4 separate regions of the Homo sapiens genome follow, and regions 1, 3 and 4 are each linked to region 2. The links are contacts of gene promoters, found by promoter capture Hi-C in human tissues and cell types (Jung and others, 2019). All regions are on one chromosome and are shown on one strand. Each heading gives the region's core, a stretch centred on a gene start or on the middle of the fragment in contact. The rest is flanking DNA. Distances are from core to core; before and after follow the strand shown.

Region 1 (3,396 bases), core at 24-2,523, 200 kb before region 2:
TTACCTAGTAAAGATGAACATATGCATATTCAACAACCCAGTAATTTTATTCCTAAATATATATCCTAATTTGGAGAGATTCTTTTTTGTGTTTTTTTGATGGGAGTCTTGCTCCTATTGCACTCCAGCAGCTATTCACAGGTATGATCATAGCCTTGAACTCCTGGACTCAAGCAGTCTTCCCAGCTCAGCCTTCTGAGTCGCTGGGACTAAAGGCTCACACCACCGTGATAGGCTGGAGAGATTCTTAAATATATACCCCAGGAGATGAATCTAAGACTGTTGCAGCATTGTTATAATTGGAAAAACAAAACAAAACAAAAAAACACCCTAGAAATAACCCAAATGTCCACATGCTGTAAAATAGATAAAATACATTTTGGATTTTGATATGTTTATACAATGGAAATATTATTTATTCAGCAATGAAAACAAATGAACTCTAGCTACACACATCAAGAATGAATTTTCAAAACATTGGATTTCAAAAGCAAATCGTAGCAGAATGTATACAATATGATTGTATTTATTTAAAGTTCAAAAACAGGAAAAAGTAAATGTTATACTGCTTAGAGATGATATGTACAAATGTATAAAATTGTGAAGAAAACCAAGAGAAAGGTCAAGAAAATTCAGTGTGGTGGTTTCCTCTTTGGGGCAGGGAGAGGTTTTGGTATCAACAAGGAACACACAGGGAGTTTCAGAGATATTTTATTTCTTAAGCTGGGTGGTGAGTACATGGGCCTAAATGTCTTTGGTTATTGTTACTTAAAATGTCCTTCTATCTCATATATACTTTAGGTTATATGTTTTGTAATTCTAAAAGAGAAAACATATATTCAAAAAATTAAAAGTTATTCCTATGATAACTTTACTCATTTGCATTCCAATATGCTTCCTGGAGTGGATGAGAATTGAGTGGCATTAAAGGTAATAGATAGGGAAGTTTTTGTGGGAGGATGACATACATTTTAATATCTCTGTCATGTATATCACATAAAGTGGTTGAGAACCACTGCTGCTAAAAGTCTGTAGTTTAGTAGGGTTGGCAGTCCTGTTAACAAATAACCATGTTATGAGTGCTCTACTAGAAGAGGTATCTTAAAAAAGAAATGGCTTGACATCAGCCAGGAAAGCTTTATGGGGCAGATGTTATTTAAGCTGGATCTTTAGGGACGAGCAGTTTATAAGGGGAGACTGGTGAGGGGAGCCCACATTGCCCAATGGAGGAAAAGGGTGTACAAAGGCACAGAAGCCTAAAAGTCCATAGAGAGTTGAGTGAGGAAATTCAGATATGTTAGGAGCCATACTGTGAAGAGCCTTGCCCGGCACACTCTGGAGTTTGCTCTGTGGGCATTGGGGTTTTATCACTTAAATTAGGGATATTAATTTCAGTATTTGATGTAAGGCTGTGTGCTAGTAGTTACCTTGAAAGTCTGTATGTATGTATATTTATGTTCTTTTTCCTCCATTTGCAGGCTGCTATATGGCAAGCACTAAACCACTATGCTTACCGAGATGCGGTTTTCCTCGCAGAACGCCTTTATGCAGAAGGTTTGAAATCTATTCATTGCTGTAGAATGATAAATGAATAACATATATGAAATTCCATAACTTTTTATCACTGTAACAAGATTCTAGCTATCATCATCTTGTTGTTTTTCTGATTGACACTAGTTCATAAAATCTTTACTTTTTTTCTGTGTAGTTCCCTTACATACTACTTTTAATAACTATGTAGAATTGATTCAGGTTTATATGCTATGATTTACTTAATCATTTTTCAATCTTTAGGTTTTTTTTTCCCCCAGGGTTTTTGTTGTTTTGGGTTTTTTTTTTTTTTTTTTTTTTTTTTTTTTTTGAAACAGGGTCTCACTCTGTCACCCATGTTGGAGTACAGTGGGACCATCTCAGCTCACTGCAACCTCTACCTCCCAGGCTCAAGCGATCCTCCCACATCAGCCTCCCAAGTAGCTGGGACCGCAGGCACGGACCACCACGCCTGGCTAATTTTTTTTTTTTTTTTGGTAGAGATAGGGTTTTGCTATGTTGCCCAGGCTGGTCTCAAATTCCTGAGCTTAGGTGATCCACCTGCCTTGGCCTCCCAAAGTGCTGGGATTATACTCATGGGCCACCATGCCATGTATTTTTTTTTTTTTTTTTTTTTTTTAAGAAAAGAGTCTGTATTCTATGGTGAAGAACATGGATTTAGACTCTATAGCCTTGGAACAAATCCTAACCTGTCACTTAAATGTACAGTTTTATAACCTTGGACGAGTTACTTTAATATCTGAAAATTCAGATATTTCATCTATAAAATAATCATTGCCCCTTAGAATTAAAAATTCAATGAGATGGTTTATTTAAAGCCCTTAGCACAGCCATCTGGCTTGGTAATCAATGCTTAATAAACACCACTGATAATGTATGTTTTGTTTCTGTCATTATTATAATTCCCTTTCTAAGATGCTGATATAGATCATTGTGTACAGCTTTTTTTTTTTTTTGAGTCATTTCCTTGGGTTATGTACTTTTAAATGGAATTTACAAGTCAAACAGTATGGGTTTAGTAGCTGAGAGTTGTGAGAACAAGGCCTAAACCTCAGGGGCAGGAAATTTCACAAAAGGACAAAGAGCAATGCTTGGAAGTAGTTTTGAGAAGTTAAGTGGAAACCAGCCTTACCTTGACTCTGAGATAGTGGGATGTAAGGTGATTACTGTCCATGTGAGAGAGCTGTCTCCTCGGTGGAGAATGGGAATTCAGTGAGAAAAGTGAGGAAGATCTGGGCAGCAGGAGTTTAAGGTCCCAATGAAAAGATTAGAAAGGTGAGAAGGAATGGAAGGCTTAGAAAGAAGATTATACAATAGATTAATCTACTCCATTCACTTATGCAAAAGTGATGTTTATTGTGAATAATCTATTTAAAAATATTTTCATTGATACCTAGGCAGGCCCCATATTTTGCTGTATTTTTAAAAATTTTTGTTGAGTCAGAATCTCACTCTGTCGCCCAGGCTAGAGTACAGTGGCACAATCATAGCTCACTGCAGCCTTGAACTCCTGGACTGAAGTGATCCTCCTGCCTCAGCCTCCCAAAGAGCTGGAGTTACAGATGTGAGCCACTGTACTCGGCCACTGTCTTCTATTTCTAGTATTTCCTTTTTGTTTTTGTTTATTATTAAAGAATAGGCAGTTTCTAGTTTATTATAGTTAGGCTCTTAAAAATTGTAAATTCATGGTTTAGAATTCAATTAGATTTTCCCATAGAATTGGTGGCAAGATTCCCAGATTAGTCCACATAAAGCTGTTTAATCCACGTTATTTATGTACCTGATACAATGCTTGGCACTTGGAAAGTTGCTCAGTAAATGTTAGTTTCTTTCAATATAGAACCT
Region 2 (3,164 bases), core at 79-2,578:
AAAGTGCTGGGATTACAGGCGTGAGCCACCGCGCCCGGCCTACTTTTTGATTCTACAGGTCCATTTTTCAAAATACAATCTAAAGAAAAATCAGTTTTGGCACAAATACTTTGTTACAAGGCTCCTTATGGTAATATTGTTTCTGATGAAAGAAAAAAGAAGACAGAAAGAAAGAAAGAAGAAAGAAGAGAAAGAAAGAAGAGAAAGAAGAAGAGAAAGAAAGAAGAAGGAAGGAAGGAGAGAAGGAAAGGGAGAAGGAAGAAGAAGGAAAGAAAAACTCAGACATCCAGCAGGAAGCTTGGTTAAATAAACTGTAGTAGTCCATACCTTAAAATGCCATTCCTTCACTAAAAATGATGTTGTAGCTCAGTAGTTTGTGCATCACGTGGGAACTGTTAGAAATGCACATTCTGGGGCCCCATCCCACATCTGATTCAGAAACTCTTGGGGTTGGTTGGGGTGGGGAGGTTGGGGGCGGGAGGTGGAAGCAATCTGGGTTTTAATAAACCCTCCAAGGCAATTCAGAGCCATAGCTGTAGAGGACCATCGCTAGGGAAAGTTACGCTGTTAAGTGAGGAAAGGTTGGGAGGCAGTAAGCAGGAACGGTGCATCCCCATATCTGTTATCTAGAGAAAGGCACAAATAGAAAAAGTCTGGGAGGAGTTTATACCCAGGTGATAACATCGACACTCTCTAGGAGGCAGATTATAAAGTTTTAGAGTAATTTCGGTAATTCATGTTTTCTAAACTAGTCTACAATGACTATGTTTGTGTAAAAAAGAAAGAAAAAAACAGTAATTTATTTTTTAATTTAAAAAAAAAGTTAAATGGGACCAAGTTGAGAGGAGGGTGTAGGGAAGGAGGCAGAGAGCCCGCCTCGCCGCGACAGCTTTCACCCCGGGAAAGCTGTGAGGCAGGACCGCCCAGGAGACCCGGGGCCAGTGGAGTGGGCAGCGCCAGGGGTCCCGGCGACTCATCTGATGTCTAGCAAGGCTTACGAGGGCTTAAATAATAAGCGAAGAGAGTCAGGGCAGATTCCGGAATAACTTCACTGCTAAGGGTATCAAATCCTGGAATGGGCACCTTGGAGAGGTTTTCTAGCCAAGAACGGACAGCGGGTGCCAGGAGGGGGTGGAGTTTCGCCGGCCCGCGGACAGAGGCTGCCGGATCTCCCGACCCCCTCCAGCACCGGGACTCCGGGGAGGCTGCGCCCGCGGCGGGATTCCCGCCCCTCGGAGATGCCGCGGGGACCGGCGGGGCGGGGCCGGGCCGTTGCTAGGGGAGGGGCGGCCAGGCGCGCGAGGAACCCAGCGGGCGACCGCTAAGCACACTAGGTTCTCCGGCTCCAGCTCCTGCGCCGCCTGTTGCTCGCTCCTCCGGGCGGTCGCTTCCCGCCCGGTGCCCAGGGGTAGGCGGCCCGAGAGCGCGCAGGCAGCCAGCCTCCCGCCTTCGTCCCCTCCCCGTACCGCAGGAGCCGGTCCGAGGGGTCCGGAGCGTCCCTGAGAGCGCGGACCCCGGCGAGCAGCCCAGTGCACCCGGGACTGCGCGCCGAGACCCCCGGCGCCGCGCGGCGATGAACGCGACCTTCCTGAACCACAGCGGCTTGGAGGAGGTGGACGGCGTGGGCGGCGGCGCCGGGGCCGCCCTGGGAAACCGCACCCACGGGCTGGGCACGTGGCTGGGCTGCTGTCCAGGGGGCGCACCGCTGGCCGCCAGCGACGGGGTCCCCGCGGGGCTGGCGCCCGACGAGCGCAGCCTGTGGGTGTCGCGGGTGGCGCAGATCGCCGTGCTCTGCGTGCTGTCGCTTACCGTGGTCTTCGGCGTCTTCTTCCTGGGCTGCAACCTGCTCATCAAGTCCGAGAGCATGATCAACTTTCTGGTGCAGGAGCGCCGGCCCTCCAAGGACGTGGGCGCAGCCATCCTGGGGCTGTACTGAGCGCCATCTGGGTCCGCCCTCGCCAGCGCTGCTGCAAGAAGGACCCCGGAGACCCGGACCCTCGCCCCGCTCTCTGCGCTCTGCCGCCGCCTCCGGGCGGGCAGCTACGTGCCTGGGGCGCCCGGGCGGGGACGCGGCGAGACTGTCGGCGGGGGCGCGGGAAGGGACTTGGACGCCCGGCTCTGTCCTGTGTGCGCTGCAGCGTTGCGGGGTGGGAGAATGTGGGGTGAGGGTTCTTACCAGTTTTTTTTGTTTGTTTGTTTTTTAAGACGTTCGGGGCAGGGTGGGAGTGGGTATGGAGATGCAATTTGGGACTGCGGTCGCTCGCGTGGGAGTTTTGTGTGTACGTTGGTGCGGGTGGGTTCGGAACACGGTGCGAGTGGGTGAAGATGTGAAGCGTCAGAGTCGCTGAGCTTGTTGGCCTGATCTTGCGTTTGGAAAGAAATCTTGTAATAAAACTGCAGCCGTAGGGCTTCAGGCAGCTTCCCACCCGCGCCTGTGAGGTGTGTGTGTGTGTTGCGGGGCGGAGGGCATGTACCCTCCTGGCGGACACTTTGAGCCCCGTGGGAGACATCTAGCCCCTGCGTGGACGCCTGGCTGGGGAGCCCACAGGTCAGGTCAAGGATCCTGGGGCTCCACGCGGAGGCCAGAGCGAGGAAAGGCAAAGGGAATCGTTTTCTAACGCCAACAGCGGAGAAGGCAGGTCCTGTGGGACAGCCAGACAGCTGGTGAGATTAATTAAATCACTGGATATATGAGTCTAATATGAGATGAAACAAAATCAGTCAGCTGTGTCCAAAACGAAGAAAATGTGAACAAGGAAAATTCAATTTGGCAGAGGGGAAAACTAGATCTAGTTAAAAGTTTAATTATAAGGCCAAAGCCCCTTCTAAGGGCTTGCTTTGTCCCTACCCTTATAGCGGACAGATGAGTAGACGGAAGAAACCCCCTTGTTGCATCCCATAGGGGTGGGGGTTGGCGGCTTTGTGGTGAGGAAGTCCCAGGATGTTTATTATACAATGGAGAAAATGGCCTCCAAACGCAGTTGCCTGCAGGGGACTTGGAGCCTCCCATTACAGGATGCCCCAGCTGCCCAGAAACCCACGCCTCCTGCAGGTGCTAACTTCCCTTGCAGCAGTGTGGAGCAGCAAGAACTGGCTACTCCCTAGCGGACAGCGAGAGGACAGCTCTGCTTTCTGGAAGTTGGGGACAGGGGGACCTGGGGACA
Region 3 (3,056 bases), core at 521-3,020, 140 kb after region 2:
AGAACTGCAACAGAGCAAGAACCTTGTCTTAGAAAAAATAATAATAAAGTATGAATACATAATATTCAGTTTAACATACTTTGAATAAGCATCTGGTGCTAAACCCTGGAATAGGAGATGATGAAGTCAGTTCTTGTCCTTGAGGAGCACACAGTTTGTTGGGAAAGACACATAAATAAATACAGAGAGCATTCTGACATATCTATATAAGTGTAAACTAGTTATTGAGCACTTACATTACACCAGGTATTGTTCTAAGTCCTATAAAACTGTTAACCCATTTAATGCTCACAGCATTTTACAAATGAGGAAATGGGCACAGAGAAGTCAAGTAACTGGCCAGCTAGTAAGCTTAGAACCGGGATTAGAACCCAGGGAGCTGGCACCAAAGACACATATTTAACGACTGTGCAGCAGTAAAGAGAAGAAAGTACCAAATGAGGCAGGAACCCAGGAAAGAAGACAATCAATTCATTGTTCCAGGGAAGAGGTAGCTAAGACAATGGCAACTGAGATGCAGCAATGTTTGAGCTGGATTTTGCAGAGTGATTTTTTTTTTCAGTCCTTCTTTCTTCACTTTAACGAATGGAATAGTCCCTCCTAATTAGTCACACAAACGTTTGAAAGGAAACCAAGTTTTCCCACTGGTTGTCATTATAATTATAAGGGTTCACCCTACAAAGCATACCTTTGCTACATTAAGTTCTACTTTGGAGTGAGAGGAGGTTGAAAAAGTGTTGGGGACTTAAGAATAGGGAATGTGTTTTAAACTAGTTAAGCCTTTCCAATCTGTTGTTGATTCTGAAATATCATTTTCATTCCCCCAGCTCCGATATTAATATCTACCCTAGTTTCTCCCTCTCTGGGCTTGGCACCCAGGATGTGCCCACCTTCTTCCTCATGAGGTGCCTTCAGTGTCTAATGTGGCCTGGTTGCAATACCACATGTCTCCAATAGGAGTCACTAGCAACAACAGGATAATTTACCTGAGGTTGCATGGAGAGAACCCTGGGTCCTAACTTAAAATCTTGTCTCTGGCTTCCTCTGCGACCTCGGTTTCTTCATCCATAAAATGGATACAACACTCCCTGTCCACCTTCCTCACAGAACAGTGGTGAGAAATGTGAAGATGAATGTGGACATCTTCCAGTGTGATTCAGAAGAGGTGCACTGTCTGATTTTCTCATAGCTTCTGTCTGGATGGTTTCAAAAAACTAATCATTCCACAGCTACGTTTTGAGCATCACTCATCATGCCAGGCACTCTGTAGGATCCAGGAATTATTTCTATCTTTGCACAAAAGGACTTTGAATAAAAGTTTAAAGCAGGGTACGGTGGCTCATGCCTGTAATCCCAGCACTTTGGGAGACTGAGATGGGAGGATCACTTGAGCCCAGGAGTTCGAGACCAGCTCTGGGCACCAAAGCAAGATCCCATCTCTACAAAAAAAATTAATAGCTGGGCATGGTGGTATGCACCTGTGGTTCGAGCTACTCGGGAGGCTGAGGCAGGAGGATGGTTTGAACCCAGGAGTTTGAGGCTGCAGTGAGCCGTGATCGCGCCACTGCACTCCAGCCTGGGCGACAGAGGGAGACCCTGTCTGAAAAAACAACCAAATAAATAAAGATTTAAAGCTAACTGTAACCCTGAGGTTGTAGAGCAGCAGCCCCTGCCCTAGGAATGATATTGGGGTGTGCAGCAGCGGCATATCTACCTCACCTGTGGCTGGAAGGCTCTCCTGACCAATAACTCATCTCTTCCTCACACAACCCAGTTTGCGCCTGAAGAAACTGAGGCACAGAGAGGCGAAGTGGCCTGCCCAAGGACCTAAATACCAGCAACTTCCCAAGCCTTTAATCCCAGAGCATAGAGTGGGAAGGGGCGGTGTGAGAAGGCAAGTGGTGGGAGAGGACCTGGAGGGATGGAGGGGGAGGCCTCCCGGGTCCCCAGGCCAGCCCAGGCCCCGCCGAGGGCGCCACCGCGGCCAGCCTTCTGCAGGAGCGCCCCCTGCCGGTCAGCGCTGCTCGCGGCGGCCGCGGACGCTGGAGGACGCTCGGCGCGGCAGGGACTGTCCTCTCGCGGACCAGAGACCCCCCCACACACCGCAGAGGAGCGCAAGAAGGGCCCTGCGGGGTCGGCCTACCCCTTCACTTTGCACACGGCAAACGCGGAGCTCAGAGGAGGACGTGGTTGCTCAAGGTCTCTCAGCTGGATGCAGGCTTCCCTGTCCGCCTGCCTCACACTGCAGAACCTCCATCTCCTCTGCCTTCATCTACCCCGCACTCCCCAGTCCAGAGGGTCCAGTTCCTCCCGGTCCTGCTCCCGGCCAGCCCCTACCCGCCCCACCAGCCCCTTCTCCTCAAGGAATCCTCTGGCATTGCAGCCCCCAGCGCTCCCTTCTCCGAAGCCCTGTTGCGTCAGGGCGTCCCCACGCCCCCACCTTAACCCGCTCTCAATTTGGGACATGGCTTAGTTGGCCTGTTGGCACGACCTTGAGGACCAGGGACGGGCCTCTTTCTTTCGGATTCTCCACCCTCCCGCCCAGAGGTGCCTGGGACAGGGCTGAACTCTCACTCTCACTCGGTGATGAATATCGATGCATGACTTTCCTTCTTCCCACCGGGAAGCCTCACAGCAGTGTCTCTGATCCAGGACCGCCAGGATACCTAGGCTGGCCTTCTGGCTTTCCTTCCTAGCTGGGTGACCGTGGGCAAGTCCCTTACAATCTCTCAGAGCCTCCGTTTCTCCGACTGTAAATAGGGAGAAAGCTGCTCTTTGGGCTGGTTGTGAAGATTAAATGAAATCATGCGTGTCATGTTCCTGTCACATAGTAGGTGCTCAATAAATGGTAAATTTGATTTGTCAGGCTTCCAAGGAGCCTTGTCTGTCGGCACCCTCTTTCCTAGGGATAAGCCTTCCAACCTGAATTCTCCCACCCTCTGCCTCCTGTTGGAAGTAGCATCGGGAAAGGCGTTCCATGGTGATGACACAGGGGCACAGGAAAGGAGAATGCAGTTGGAAACAGAACCGGCTGCTTTCTGCCTCCACTTCTACTC
Region 4 (3,297 bases), core at 75-2,574, 250 kb after region 2:
AGAGAAGCCCTTTTTTCCGGCTTGGCTCCCTGCTGGGACAGCCCTTTTCAATTTTTCTATCCCCTCTCGATCTCTTCTCCTGCAGAACACAGGGAAACTTGATTGAAATAAAGACCTAGGGAACATGTTTTATTTTCTCCTGTTCAATCCATTTTAGAAAAGCTTTTAATTGGTTTTAAAAAGATGCTAAACAAAATGTGATGATGTTTTTCACTCTTCACGAACTGCAGATACCACTTTTTATACTTTCAAAGGGCTAATAAATCAATCATGAAATTAACTCTGCAGCTAAATTTAAAGCAAATCCACTGAATACCAGGTTCATTAAAAATCTATGCATTTACTTAGAAAAATTTAAAATTCAAAGAAAATTATCCTAGTAACTGAAATCTGACTTGAATTTTTAGTTCTACACTGAAAATCCAAGACCAAGGCAATCACAAAGGGAAAAAAGGAGGGCTTGGGAACCAGTTTTAATAAGCCAATTTACAAGAAGGGAGGGGGTGGTGGGGGAGGGGTGGAAGGAGAAAAGAGAATATCTGGATACATAACAACATAGTGCCCCTGAAGGGATTCTTTTATTTGAGCACGTGCACACATGCACACACAATTTTTCTGTGTGAAAGCTGGAAATACAACAAATGCAAAATTGAGGATTCTGTGACTGATATGATTACTGTAGTGTATATAAGTATAGTTCCTCCTTTTAAAGAAAAATGCTCACAACTTTTGTTTTCTTACCAGTAATAAATATTTTTCTATCACTCTATGCATTTCTACAATATTTAGCTGAATATACCTTTAATATTTAATTAAAAACATCTGAAAAAACTATATGCTAATGGTTTGACAAAGTGAATGCTTCCATTTTACAATGACTAATATTCTTAACACTTGGATCAGCCTGAAAATTTCCCCTTATTTTCTTGAGAGAATATAAACATTTTAAAAAGCAAGGTGGTATGACAAAGCACATTTTTATTTTGTTAAATACATGCCAACTAGAAATACTACAAATATTAATTTATCCTGTTACTGATTCATGTATACTGCAGGTAATCTGGCAGTCCAGGTCAGAGTCACCAAATTCAGATTAATGACCAGATGGTATTCCCTTCAGAGAGAACCCCTGCCATTTCCAATCACTAAGGCAACCACATCTCTTACTTCTTACATATTTCTATATTCTTCCTCTTCAGTCCTTAGATAAATTCACTCCATGTTCTTTTTAAATGATCCAATTCCTCTTTCTCCCAAGCTGGGCCACGTACCTTGGATGCTCACCCCTCACTTCTAACTCTATGTCTCCTTTCATCATTTAAGTAGCTCCTAAACCACTTCTAAAAAATGTAATCGCTTGAGATATGGTTCACAGAGCACACAGTTTACCCATTTAAAGTGTACAATTCAGTATTTTAGTATATTCACAGATATACACAACACCACCAAAATCAATTTTAGAGCATTTCTATCACCCCAAAAAGAAACCCCATACCCATTAGCAGTGACCCTCTCACTCTTCTCATTCTCCCCTCCCAGCCCTAGGCCATCCCAAATATATTTTCTGTCTTTATAGATCTGCCAGTCCTGGACATTTCATGTAACTGGAATCATCCAATATGTGGTCTTTTTGACTGGCTCCTTTTGCTTAGCATGTTTTCAAAGTTCATTCATGTTGTAGTATGTAATGGTACTACTTTTTTTTATTGCTGAGTAATATTCCATTATATGGATATACTAGATTTTATCAGATAAATGTTTAGTTATGAATAATGCTGCTATGAATACTCACATACAAGCTTTCATGTGGACATATGTTTTTCATTGCTTGTAGGTGTATACTTGGTGGAATAGCTGGGTTATATGGTAACTCTATGCTTAACCTCTTGAGGAACATTCTTACCAGCAGTGCATACAGGTTCCAATTTCTCCACATCTGCACCAGCGCTTGTCATTACCTGACTTTTTGATGATAGCCATTCTAGCAGGTATGCAATGAGTGGTATCTCACTATTGGTTCTGACTTGCATTTCTCTGATGACTAATGATGTTGAGTACCTCTTCTTATACTTGTTGGCCATTTGAACTTTACTTATTTTTGAATGTTTTCACTCTTATCATATCCTGTCTAAATATAAACTCCAGCAATATGAAAACACTTGAGCCCACTAAAATGAAAAGACACTGAAAAATTTTTTTTTGTTGATAAGGTATTTGTGAAGCATGTACGTATAAGCCTCTATGCCATTGGCTGTGAGATTTAAAAGCATAAGATAATGTTCCTTCCCTCAAAAATCTTACAATAAGTTTTACAACACAGAAACAATTATTCTTAAATCTTAGTGTGGCAGATCATTCGTTAATAGTTTCTGTTTATTTCTGTTAGTATCTACTTTGGATCACAAATGCTTCTCAGCCAAGGGGGTGTACCTCTGTTTAAATCAATGTGTATAGTATTTAACAATGTAAAGAACAAGAAGTATAAGATAGCACTGAAGTTAATCTTCCTTCTCCCAAGTGACTTTTAGCATAAATTATTTTCAGCTAAAAAAGAAGAACTATTTTAAGAGATAAATTTAAATGCCTAGAAAAAGTCTCACATTCTAATAGTTTTTATAATTAATATGCTGACATAAAGTTTTTTTGTGTGCATAATATATGTAGATGTTGGGGGTAATTATTTCTGTTTCAGCAACTTTAGATATATACGTTTACTTATTTATGAAAACATTGGAGGAATCATGATATATGTAGATAATTATTTCTGTTTCAGCAACTTTAGATATATACGTTTACTTACTTAAGAAAATATTGCAGGAATCAGAGAAAGGGAAAATACACTCACCTCTCTAACTTCACCCTTAGTATAAGCTAAGACTCCAATTACTAGGAATGATGGTTTATGAAAAGCTGATTTAAAAATCCTTCCACAGTACACATATGTTGCAAATCTTCAAGACTATTATAGGTTATGTTTCTTTTCATTATTTTAGAAGTTAAAAAAAAACTCCAGAAAAACCAAGACAAGTCATTTACTTTTAAGTGCAAAATACACGCACATATATAACTGTTAAATTAAAAATTAGATTCACCAGTTTAAGAGTAAATATTTTCCTTACAGATTAGTTTCTATCTCTAACTTTAAATATGAGATTCTCATACAGACATTAAGATGCTTTTCAAGTCAGTGCTTAACTGCTTTGTACCTGCCTTTGATTGGCATTTTTCAAGGTTACAGCATGCAGAATCAATCAAGAGAACTCATGTCTTGTGACACAGCCAAACATGCTCTGGCAG

Evidence for each region. Contacts are between HindIII fragments. The study calls those that stand out against the background at their distance.
Region 1: a contact is called between a fragment that was not itself captured here and the fragment with the promoter of RPRML in region 2, in 3 of the 25 tissues and cell types used here (H1 embryonic stem cells, heart right ventricle and stomach).
Region 3: a contact is called between a fragment that was not itself captured here and the fragment with the promoter of RPRML in region 2, in 1 of the 25 tissues and cell types used here (spleen).
Region 4: a contact is called between a fragment that was not itself captured here and the fragment with the promoter of RPRML in region 2, in 2 of the 25 tissues and cell types used here (dorsolateral prefrontal cortex and mesenchymal stem cells).

What each region holds. Positions count from the first base shown.
Region 1 is chr17:47,179,720-47,183,115 of GRCh38, reverse strand. CDC27 (cell division cycle 27) reads left to right here. Exons shown (of 19, transcript NM_001256.6): 2 at 1,479-1,554. Among named protein-coding and RNA genes, the nearest start is that of CDC27, 7.9 kb to the left of the region's middle. The HindIII fragment of the contact is 6,447 bases long and covers 1-3,396 here.
Region 2 is chr17:46,977,417-46,980,580 of GRCh38, reverse strand. It overlaps RPRML (reprimo like), which reads left to right and starts at 1,328. Exons shown (of 1, transcript NM_203400.5): 1 at 1,328-2,425. The coding sequence starts at 1,574. The coding sequence ends at 1,936. It also overlaps a transcript of LRRC37A2 not described here. RefSeq lists a silencer at 1,206-1,385 and enhancers at 1,863-2,542, 2,543-3,164. The HindIII fragment of the contact is 12,504 bases long and covers 56-3,164 here.
Region 3 is chr17:46,840,940-46,843,995 of GRCh38, reverse strand. It overlaps a transcript of LRRC37A2 not described here and a transcript of WNT9B not described here. Among named protein-coding and RNA genes, the nearest start is that of WNT9B, 9.1 kb to the left of the region's middle. The HindIII fragment of the contact is 7,127 bases long and covers 1-3,056 here.
Region 4 is chr17:46,729,568-46,732,864 of GRCh38, reverse strand. The region is part of intron 17 of NSF (N-ethylmaleimide sensitive factor, vesicle fusing ATPase); the gene reads right to left. It also overlaps a transcript of LRRC37A2 not described here. Among named protein-coding and RNA genes, the nearest start is that of WNT3, 87 kb to the left of the region's middle. RefSeq lists an enhancer at 1-256. The HindIII fragment of the contact is 3,561 bases long and covers 1-3,104 here.